Linked DNA regions of Homo sapiens: all the other regions are linked to region 2. The links are contacts of gene promoters, found by promoter capture Hi-C in human tissues and cell types (Jung and others, 2019). All regions are on one chromosome and are shown on one strand. Each heading gives the region's core, a stretch centred on a gene start or on the middle of the fragment in contact. The rest is flanking DNA. Distances are from core to core; before and after follow the strand shown. Region 1 overlaps TOM1L2 (target of myb1 like 2 membrane trafficking protein). Region 2 holds the start of MYO15A (myosin XVA). Region 3 overlaps TOM1L2 (target of myb1 like 2 membrane trafficking protein).

What was found. The method cuts DNA at HindIII sites, captures the fragments that hold promoters and counts their contacts. A contact is called where the count stands out against the background at its distance.
Region 1: a fragment that was not itself captured here is called in contact with the fragment with the promoter of MYO15A in region 2 in 2 of the 25 tissues and cell types used here (dorsolateral prefrontal cortex and mesendoderm cells).
Region 3: a contact is called between a fragment that was not itself captured here and the fragment with the promoter of MYO15A in region 2, in 2 of the 25 tissues and cell types used here (dorsolateral prefrontal cortex and spleen).

What each region holds. Positions count from the first base shown.
Region 1 is chr17:17,852,990-17,856,509 of GRCh38, reverse strand. The region is part of intron 12 of TOM1L2 (target of myb1 like 2 membrane trafficking protein); the gene reads left to right. Among named protein-coding and RNA genes, the nearest start is that of SREBF1, 18 kb to the right of the region's middle. The HindIII fragment of the contact is 7,112 bases long and covers 1-3,520 here.
Region 2 is chr17:18,107,225-18,110,827 of GRCh38, reverse strand. It overlaps MYO15A (myosin XVA), which reads right to left and starts at 2,072. Exons shown (of 66, transcript NM_016239.4): 1 at 2,004-2,072. DRG2 (developmentally regulated GTP binding protein 2) reads right to left here. Exons shown (of 13, transcript NM_001388.5): 13 at 2,859-3,603. The coding sequence ends at 3,588. It overlaps LOC105371566 (a long non-coding RNA gene), which reads left to right. Exons shown (of 3, transcript NR_164159.1): 3 at 2,193-3,137. RefSeq lists an enhancer at 3,129-3,603. The HindIII fragment of the contact is 16,274 bases long and covers 1-3,603 here.
Region 3 is chr17:17,885,006-17,888,281 of GRCh38, reverse strand. The region is part of intron 4 of TOM1L2 (target of myb1 like 2 membrane trafficking protein); the gene reads left to right. Among named protein-coding and RNA genes, the nearest start is that of SREBF1, 50 kb to the right of the region's middle. RefSeq lists an enhancer at 2,702-3,276. The HindIII fragment of the contact is 4,674 bases long and covers 1-3,276 here.

The DNA.
Region 1 (3,520 bases), core at 575-3,074, 250 kb after region 2:
GGAACTTGGGCCATGCAGGATCACCCAGAGCCGTGGGAGCAAGGGGCATCTGCCTGCCACCCAGCTTGGGCTGGTGCCCTCTGCACAGCTCTGCTGTCAGCCTGGGCAGGTCTCCTGCCACCTCTCATAGTAGCAGCATACTGCTGCTCTGCGTGAGAAGGCAGTTCCTCCACTAGACCCCAAGCCCATTCTTAGAGAGATGTGCTGGCCCAGGCCTCTCATTTGCTTCTTCAGGGACAGGCTGGCCTCTGGCCCACATGTCAGGGGCCTTTGCAGCAGGGCTTCTGGAAACCATGTCCATTCATTGGGAAGATCCAGCCCACATGCCCTTGTGCCTATTAATCCTGCAAAAAAGGATACTGCCCACACAAACTCCCCTGAGGGTGGCCTTGGCAGCTGGTGGTGGTGCCTGTCTCTGCCCACACAGACTGCCTCGCCACTGCCAGGTCCCACGTAGAGCTCCAGTCTCTAACTTCCCAGAAACAAACCTAACTAACAGCTAACCTGGTGTCTTGCCTGACTGACTGCAGTTTGTTTTTTTTTTTTTCTTTACAACAAATATTAATTGCTTTGCCTTATTTCCCATAGTGTAGAAACCTTGAGTCTTTTCAAGCCTCCTGAGTACAAATTCTTTACTTGGAAACTTTTTGTACTATTGAGTGAGATCAAAGGCTTTTAGACTTGGTCCCAGTGGGGTGGTGCTTGAAGTGACATAGGAAGGGATTCACAGCTTCTCTGGAAATAGTACACCTGAGCTACAGAAATTGTTCTTGTTACATTGAAAACTGGACAGGTGGGTTTCCTTGTGGGCATGGGGCTGTGGGAAGCTGCAGAGGAGCATCTGTTGGAACCCTTATGCTCCTGGGACTCAGGTGTGTGGATAGCCAACACAGAAGTTAACTGACACCACCAGGCTTATTACTGGTTGAAGAGAAATGAGACTTGTCAATGGGCTAGGGCCGGGCGGCTCTCAGGGAGACTGCTAGGCTTGTGCTCTCCCTCCCTGGCCTCTCTAGTGTGAGGTCTTTTTGCCTCTCTTGGCTGGTGATCAGCTAGGGGTGTCTCCCTTTTGCAGGGTGCAGCCAGGAAAATATCCTCATGTGAGAGAATCTAAGTCAAAACAAGAACAGAGGTAGGTTAGTAAAGAATGCTGCTGCCAAAACCCAGGCTTGGGTTTGGAGGGCGGGACTCCCTCCTCAGACCTGGAGGCCCCCAAGGCTCTTACTCTGGAAGGATAATCCTAACCCCTGGAGTACCAGACAGACATGCCTCTCCCCCTTGGGCAGGCAACCCTCCCTCCTGATCCCTGAGGCAGAGCTGCCCCTGCCTGCAGTTCCAAGTGAGAATCAGCTGACAGCAGGATGGCTCACCTGCCACTCAGATCAAAACCTGTGGCTTCTGACATCCAAGATGTCTGTGGACTTTGAAAATGGGCAGGGCTGGTCTAACCACTGCCTCAGCCAAGCCAGCCTGGCCTACCTATCTTCAGAGGGGCTGAGCTTCAGGCAGCAGTCTCTATTGGAGGGCATTCCTCTGCTAGCTTCCTTCCTTTTCTCTCTTCACATGTCTTCTTCCTTTCTGTCCCTCTCTTCCAACTCATACGCTTCTTCAGATCCCTCAGACCAGCCTTCAGCTTGGATCATTGCCCAAGAAAATGCTGAAACTATGGCATGTCAGGCTGGGTGCAGTGGCTCACATCTGTAATCCCAGCACTTTGGGAGGCCAAGCTGGGCAGATCATTTGAGGCCAGGAGTTTGAGATCAGCCTGGCCAACATGGCAAAACCCTGTCTCTACTAAAAATACAAAAAAAAAAAAAATTAGGCAGGTGTGGTGGCTCACGCCTGTAATCCCAGCTACTCAGGAGGCTGAGGCACAAGGATTATCTGAACCTGGGAAGCAGAGGTCGCAGTGAGCTGAGATCGCACCACTGCACACCAGCCTGGGCAACAGAGCAAGACTCTGTCTCTAAATAAATTAATTAATTAAATAAATAACTAAATAAATAAATAAAAATAAAAATAAAACTATGACACATCAGAGCCAACAGCCTTCTTAGGAATCTGCTGGGCCAGCCCCTAGTCTGACAGATGAGGATACCGAGGCCTCCTAAGGGCCTGGTGTCTTGCCCAAAGCTGCAGGGAAGAAACAGAGTCCCCTAAGACTCAGCGCAGTGCCCCCTGCTCCAACCAGGGCCCCACTTCCCTCCCATCAGCCTGACAAGGAGCGCGTCCTCGGCCTCCCACAGTTTCTTTGGTTCATATTTTCCAAGCAGTGTACATGTTTAGTCTGAGTCTGATAGCACCTACATTATTAGAAGGAACTTTGCCCTGTTATAATACTCAAGGCATTTATTTACCAGGACAAGAGGTTTAGATAGCTAAGGTTTTGTGTCTGGCCACAAGAAAGTCAATTTAAGCTTACGTTATATAAGCTTAACTGTTAACCATCACCCTGCTCCACCATGGTTCACGCCCTGAGGCCAAGTGGCTTCTATATTGTAATGAGTCAGTTTCCATAATTTCTGACATCCCTGGGTTTCTGAATTAGAAAACAGAAGCACCAACCTGAAAGTTAAGGTTTCTGAGTCATAAGAATTGAAAGCCAAATACAATCTAGCAATCGCCTTATTTCACAGATGAGGAAATTGAGGCCAAGCATTGCTCAGGCCTCTGTCCCCTGCTCCTGCCTCTCCACCCAAATCTCTAAGGCTTCTTAGGATAGAAGAAACTCAGGAGCTCTCCGGTGAAGAAAGTGGGGTCCAGAGAGGAGCGACTCACCCCAGGTCCTGCCACCAGTGAGTGTGAGGGCCCAGATGGACCCCACCCAGTGCACTCTCCTCAGCGTGCCCTCTAGGGCTTGGTCTGGAGGATGCCATTCCATAAACATACTACTTATTTGGAAAAATCTAGGACATGGAAGAAAAGGGTTCCCATGAGCCAGCTTTTGGGAAGTTATTTTTGAGGAGGTGAGGAATTTCTTAAGTGTCATTGTTTATTTTCTGAGCATGTTGGCTCTCAAGATTTATCCCCAAAGAAGAAAATTAAAGTATGACCCCAGGCCTCAAGGGATTTGTTCTTTAGCAGCAACAAAACAATTACAAGAAAAATCTGAAGGTTTAAGGCCCCTGACCCCTTAATGTCTTTGTTGTAGCTTTTGCAACACATTGGAAAGCTCAGGACATCTAGTCTGTTTCTGCTAAGTGGACAAAAGCTGGTCAGGTGTAAAGAAAGGGCTGGTGCACACTCTAACCGCTAGTGTGGGACTATTTTCTCTCTGGAGATGCTGCTGACTTTCTAAGCTTCAGTTTTGGGGACTCAGCATGGCATGCGTCCTCCCAGAGGCCACACATTCTGACTTACAGTCATTGAGAGCATGATAACTGGTGTGTCCTGTTCCAGGAATGTCTCAAGGCAGAAGGCCTGCCAGCAAGCACAGAGTAGCAGTGTACCCTACTGCCTTTTGATGGGCAAGGGCAAGGAAGTGCCAGCCTTAGGCATTGTTAACACATCTGTCAGTCAT
Region 2 (3,603 bases), core at 823-3,322:
GGACAGTCCTATGGCTGGAGCAGAGTGATTGAGGGCATGTGAAATGAGAGGTGGCCAGGGTGGCAGGCAGGGACTAGCCCAATGGCCGTGAAAGGGATGGGACTTTGGTCACTGTTTCGCATTTCCAGATGTTTACTATGTGCCAGGCTTGGTACTAAATGCTTTTCTGGAATATCTCACTAGATTCTCACATAGATGAAGGGCTTGATCTTAGAGAGGTTAGATCCCTCAGCCGAGAGCCCACAGTGAGGAAGCCATGGGGCCTGTGTCCCTGACTGCAAGACCTGTGCTCAGAACGGCCAGGCCACACAGACCTCAACTCTCACTACAACCTCCTGAAGTCGGTGTGGTTACTCTTCCCACTTTACAGATGAGGACATGGGCCCAGAGAGGTTATGTGAGTGACACAGCTTGAAGGTGGAGTTAAGCCTGGGCAGTCTGGCTTCAGAGTGTCCACAGTCTCAACCACTGCCTCACATGGCTTCTTAGAAAATATTATAAAAAGAAGCTCGGGCTGCCATGTGGAAAAGAATGGAGAGGGGACAATGACACAGCTGGGAGCATGCTGTGATGGTGTACAGCGGACACATTCAGGATGAGGTGAAACAGGCTGGCCCTGGTGAGAGGCTAGATGGGGCTGGGATGAGGGTGGAGACAAGTAGTCTTGGGGTTGGCTTGGTGCAGCTGGGGGGTGCGGGGAGTGTCTCTGAGGTGAGGCCGGGGGTATGGGAACGCCATGTTTGGTCTGGGACACGGTGGGCTTGGGATGGCTACAGGACAGTGCAGTGGAGAGTCAAAAAGGCTGCTCGGACCCAGGTCTGGCGAGATGGAAGCTGGAGGTCAGGTGAGCTGTCTAGGAGAGGGACAGAGTGGGAAGGAGAGGGTCTCGACTCGGCTTTCTTGCCAAAGGAGGGTTCCGAAATGAGAAACTGTGGAATCTAAGCTGGAGAGGAAGAAAGACGGAGAATGAGTGAACGCACACGTGTGGGACAGATAGATGAATATTCATGTCTTTGGCTCCTATGTACCTGAGTCTTCTAAAGCTGCAGGCCATACTACCCCCGGGAGGCTGCAGGGATGCCAGCTGGGAGATGAATGCAACTCTGCTGCCTGGGCATGGGCCTGAGTGAGGGTGCAGACCCCTGCCTGTGATCATCAGGGAGGGTGATGAGAACAAGGTGGCTGACAGGGTGAGGCCCAAGCCTGGAGCTTACCCAGGTGCGGGGATGGGAGGGTCAGAGACCTTTGGGGGGTCTTAGGGAGCTTCCCCAGCCCTAAAGGCACCGCAAGCTGCCACTTCACACTGACCTGGGCATACGCAGCTGCAGGATCCCTTGCTCGCTCTCTCACAAGCAAATGTAGACTGCGCAACCATCCTGACCACAGATCCAGAAAGCCCAGGACATAACAGAGCCGCAGTGCCTGCCCTGATCCACGCGCACACAGATCTAGCCCAGGAACAAGCCCATCCACGGTGAGGAACTTGTGGCCCAGTGGCTGGAGCCTCTCACCTGAGCCCTCACTGCCTGAGGACCCCCAGCCTCTGGCCTCATTTCCCACCCTTTGCCAGCCAGCCTTGGGGACAAAACAGGTCTGGATCTAATCCAAGGTCTGGACTCACCCTGACACCCTGTGAACTCAAGGCCTTCCCTACCTCACCCTGGGCCCAGAGCCCCTACCTGTAAAGTGGAAGTGGGAATGGCCACCAGCCAGGCAGAAACCCTCACTTAGGGCCTCATGGCCAGGCATCAGGACAGTCAGGAGAGGGGCCGAGGTAAGCCACAGAGGCCCTGCCTGTCTTGGTATCCCACCATCGCCAGGAGGGGACTGCATGGGCATCACACCCCTCACAGATGAACAAAGTGAGGCAGAGAAGGGCCTCAAGATGAGTTAGGGGCGAGGCCCCAGCTCTGCTGCTGCCCCTTCCCTTATCACCCCTGCAGCCTGGGATGCGAGGGTGGCCAGTGACAGACCCCAAGGACTCTAGGCTAAGGTCTCCTTACCTGCGTTCTGTGGCCTGCTCCCCGCCTGCATGCCGCCTCATGGGGGTCCTCTGGCTGGCCCAGGAGCACGGTTGGCCCAGCAGAGCAGCTCAGTGTTATGGGGAAGGGAGGCCCAGCCCACCACGCCGACCGCCTGGGGCCCTATGTATATTTAATGATGTCTATTATTCCTGTTTTGTCTCTGGAAAGGAGTGAGCAGCTGACAGGGGAGCCACGAACAGCCTGGAGAGCTGAGCATGGGCCTGCTCCACACTCCAGCGGGGCCCGAGGCCCCCGGGAACTCTACCCCTCCTGGCAGCCTCACAGAACCTGCTGCATCCATCTCAAAAGGCATACCTCCTCCAGGAAGCCTTCCCCGCTGCTCAGAGGTCTTAAATCCGGGGTCTGCACTCACAAACTGTGCAGCCTACACCAGCTTCTGGGGGACAGCAGAACACTGTGGGGGGCCTGGCACAGTCCCTGGCACACGGTAGGCACTCATCGAGCCCCTGCCAGCCCCTCTACTCCTGACTTCTGAGGCAACAGGAAATGACCCGCCACCTTGTTCTCACAGAGCCTCCCTGCCAGCCCAGATGGTCACAAGGGCCTCCTGGGATGCTGCCCACCTTGGCAGCCAGGCCCCTCCGGAGGGGCCAGTCTGGGCCTGACACCCCCGAACACCAACCCCCTGGGCAGAGCCTGCCTGTGCCTGGGTGAGGAACCCTGCAGTCTCCTTGCCACACAAGGCCTGGGTCTGCCTTGGGGCCCAGGCTGCACCCTCTCCGACCCCCAGGCCCAATGTCTGACCTGTGCCCACCTGACTCAACCTGGCTACTGTTCAGCAAGTTTACAAAGTGTTCTCAGTCTGAACAGGAACCGTTTTCAATCCTTTATTTCAGAAAGGAGAGCCAGGAGAACTGGGGACTTAGAAAATACAGATCCTAAACTCAAAAGTCCCTGCCCCAGGCGTGCAGAGCCAGGGTCCTGGGGTTTTGTGCTGGGCAGGGGCTGCCCTGGGAGGGGGAATACAGGGGGAGGCACTTTAGGACACCCCTTAGGCTGTGGAGGGTGTCAGCTGGGCCTTTGAAGCCACTAACCACTGGTTCCCATCATGGAGAGCCCTGTGTGGGGCACCCAAGGGGGTTTCCTCCTGGAAGGGCCCCCAACCCAAGTGTCAGAGAAGCTGGCAAGAGCTGAGGGAGTGAGGTGCCATGACAGCAGCCACAGCCTCCAGGGACCCAAACAGGCCCAGCTACCAGCCTGGCACTGAGCATGCCATCTGCTTTAGGCCCTGGCTGGCGGGCATGTGGGCAACTTGCTCCCTCAGTGCAGGGGGCTGGGAGGCACAGATGCAGGCTCAGCACTACAAACTCAAAACCCCCATGAGAGGGCTCAGTCTTATGGGAAATGCCTCCAACCGAGCCCCTTTGCCCCAACACACTCTTCGTCTGCCTACTGAAGAAACTTCTGTAAATAGCAGAGACTTGAGGGACCCCTTCCTGGGGTACGTGTATTTGTATTTTTCTGTTTGGGTGTTTGTGTGTCCCAGTGGGACCACCTCCCCAGGGAGACGAGGCAGGTGGGCGGGAGGCCCGGCAGGCGCCGTTACTTCTTCACGATC
Region 3 (3,276 bases), core at 341-2,840, 220 kb after region 2:
TTTTTTCTCCTCATTAGACCTTCCTCTGGGTCTTCCAAGCCCCTAATCTTGTAGCCACAGGCAGGAAAAGAAGGCTTCCAGTGAACTGACCACTTGGCCATTAACCAGCTAGCTCCTGTGACAGGCCCTCAGAGTGTGCTCACACCGCTGCATCACTTTGCTTTCTGAAAAGGCAGCTTTAAGAGGGGGCAGCCTCCCCCACCCTCAGTGCTGCTCTCAGGCTTCAGGTTAAGCACTCCAAGAGTGGCCAGACCTCCTGAGGCTTGCCACATCTTCTCTAGGGAGTATTCTCAGCTGGGTCAGCCTTCCAGCACCCCTCCTTTGTCACTGTCACTTCAGTCTGTTGACAGCCTAAGTGGCCATCTTTCCTCTGTTCTCTGAAGTAGGAAAATAAGGATGCTTAGTAACTGTGAGAACTGAATTCAGTTTAACCTGATAAATGTTGACTGACTGCCTTCTCTGTACACGGGTGAGAGACTCGGTGTCTGCCTTCAAAAGGTGTCTGGGCTGGGCGCAGTTGGCTCATGTCTGTAATCCCAGCACTTTGGGAAGCCAAGGTGGGTGAATCCCTTGAGTCCAGGAGTTCAAGACCAGCCTAGGCCACATGATGAAACCCCATTTCTACAAAAAATACAAAAATTAGCCAGGTATGGTGGCACATGCTTATAGTCCCAGCTACTCTGGAGGCTAAAGTGGGAGGATTGCTTGAGCCCGGAGGCAGAGGTTGCAGTGAGCTGAGATGGCACCACCATTGTACTCCAGCCTGGGGGACAGCTCTGACCCATGCCCAATTATTGAGGCATGTCCCAAGAAGATGCTAGGGACACATGGCATCTCTGGATGTCTCCCATCTGTACGTTTTCACATATGAATGGGAGACACCCAGAGATGAGAGACACCCAGAGCTGCATTTATTCAGAGGCGCCCCTGCACCCCATTTTTTCCTCTGTTGGCATGAGAATCCTATTCAATAGAGATTGCCATCATGAATATCTGCTCTGTTAGCAGCCATCTCATCCAGTCTGCACAGAGGTCCCAGATAAGGGTTGGAATTGTGGCAGGTAGGAAGCGGGTAGATTAGCCAAGACTACTTGATCGCAAATAACAGATGCCAACTCCAGCTTGCCTAGGCAAAGAGAAGAGTTTGTCATGACAGGGCAGAGTCTCCCAGAAGTCCAGGTCACCCCGCCCTGGGAAGGGACAGAAAATATCAGGAAGGCCTTCCAAATCCTCTCCTGTACGCCTGCACCTCCGAGCACTCTAGCTGCTCCTTCTGGAGAACATAGGCTGTCTCTGCTTCCAGTCCTGTGCTGGCACATGGCCCTGGAGTTACAGAGGACAGTTCTGCCTACCCAGTGAGAACATCCCAGCTTCTAGTGCTGCTGAGTTCCTGGAAGGAGGAGCATCTGATTGGCCCAACTTGGGTGTGCATTTCCCTCCCACTCCAGTCTGTCTCTGTGAACATGGAAGCAGAGTGCCTTAGAAAGTGGACCCGAAGAAGTATCCTCCAACTGGAGAGAAGAGCCATAGTTCTTTCATCTTTATTCCTATTATCTCAAATTTGGCTTGGGTAGAGAGCTAGATGAATTGAAAGGAATCCCTGGAGCTGTTGGTACTCCATGTACAAAGGCATGAAGTGGTGCCAGGAAGAACTGCCATGTGTTTTTTCCCCAGCCTCCGACAGTGGGCTGTGAAACTGGTTTTTAGACCCTAAAGTCAACACCCTAAACTAAAATGCTAGGGCATTTTGAGGTTGGCGTCACAGGACTTAGCTGGATTTTGAACCAGGTGGAGGCAGCCAGCGCAGCTGGTGGGGGCGGGGCCAGAGGCACTCCCTACGGGCAACCTACTCTCCTCCAGCTGGGCCTTCCAGACAGTGCTCTGTGAGGCACTTTCTTTGGCCCTCCTCAGAATCCAGAAGGAGTGTTGGCCAAGAGGGGCTGTCCTGATCCAGTAGTTTTAAATCCCTGAGCATGCAAATTAAATAAGTGCATCAGGGAAAGCCGGGCTGACAGTACTGTTCCTGGTGAGATGCATCAGTCATAATTAAGGAGGCTTTTTGGAAACTGACCTTTTAACTTCAAATGGGTCTGTTGGTTAGAGACAGAGTTTCTGTGGCTGCCTCAGGATTGGTTGTACCACATTGCTGGAGTGAGGGAGACAGTTAAATTCTGTGACAATGACAGACTTGGCAATGGAGTCATGGGCACAGGAGGCTCTGCCTCCTCCTTTGGGTATGTATGGTGAATGGGACAGCATGAGAAGGGCCATTTCTGGGAAGGCCTTTGAGTATTCTGTTTTTGATACAGTCCAAGACTTCCAAAGAACAGAATTTTTTTTTTTTTTTTTTTTTTTTTGAGACGGAGTCTTGCTCTGTCGCCCATGCTGGAGTGCAGTGGCGCCATCTCAGCTCACTGCAAGCTCTGCCTCCCGGATTCACACCATTCTCCTGCCTCAGCCTCCTGAGTAGCTGGGACTACAGGCACCCGCCACCACGCCCAGCTAATTTTTTTGTATTTTTAGTAGAGATGGGGTTTCACTGTGTTAGCCAGGATGGTCTTGATCTCCTGACCTCGTGATCCGTCCGCCTCGGCCTCTCAAAGTGCTGGGATTACAGGCATGAGCCACCGCACCCAGCCCAGAATTTTTTTTTTAATTTTTAAGTTTCATGAGTCAACAGAAATGATAATCTACTTGAATTTTTGCTCTTTCCTCTCTGTGATATGTTTTCACTGAAGGGAATCTGGTGATTGTGCTTTTCTTGGGATTTTTCGATTTGGGCACACATGTGCTGACATTTTTGGCAGCGGACATCATGAAAGAAGCTTGGGTCTGGGAAAAGGACCCCTGGGGGTGAACTCCCCAGTCTGGCCTGGGTCTAGCTCCCAATGGGCTCTTCTTCCCTTGAACCACAGTCATCTCACCTACTGGCAGCAGCGCTAGACAGAGCTAGGCTAGACAAGCTCAGCATTAGTTGTCTCTGATCTGAGGAAACCTGTAGTTAGCCTTTACTTCATGTCACACATCAATTTCTCCTTTCCTTTCTGCTCAATTTGTTGCCGGTTCCCAACTCCACCAGTAGAAGCTTTCAGGGCAGAGGTGCTCCCGCACAGAGGGCAGGCACCCTGCTGAGCTGACAAGGCTCCAGCTTCCACTCCCTGCAGCTGAACAGCCCCAGCAATTGATTTCCTTGCCATTAGGGAAATTCCTGCTTTTTAGGATGCACCACCGTGCATAGGTGTTATTTCTCTGTCTCTTCTCCAAGGAAATACATGC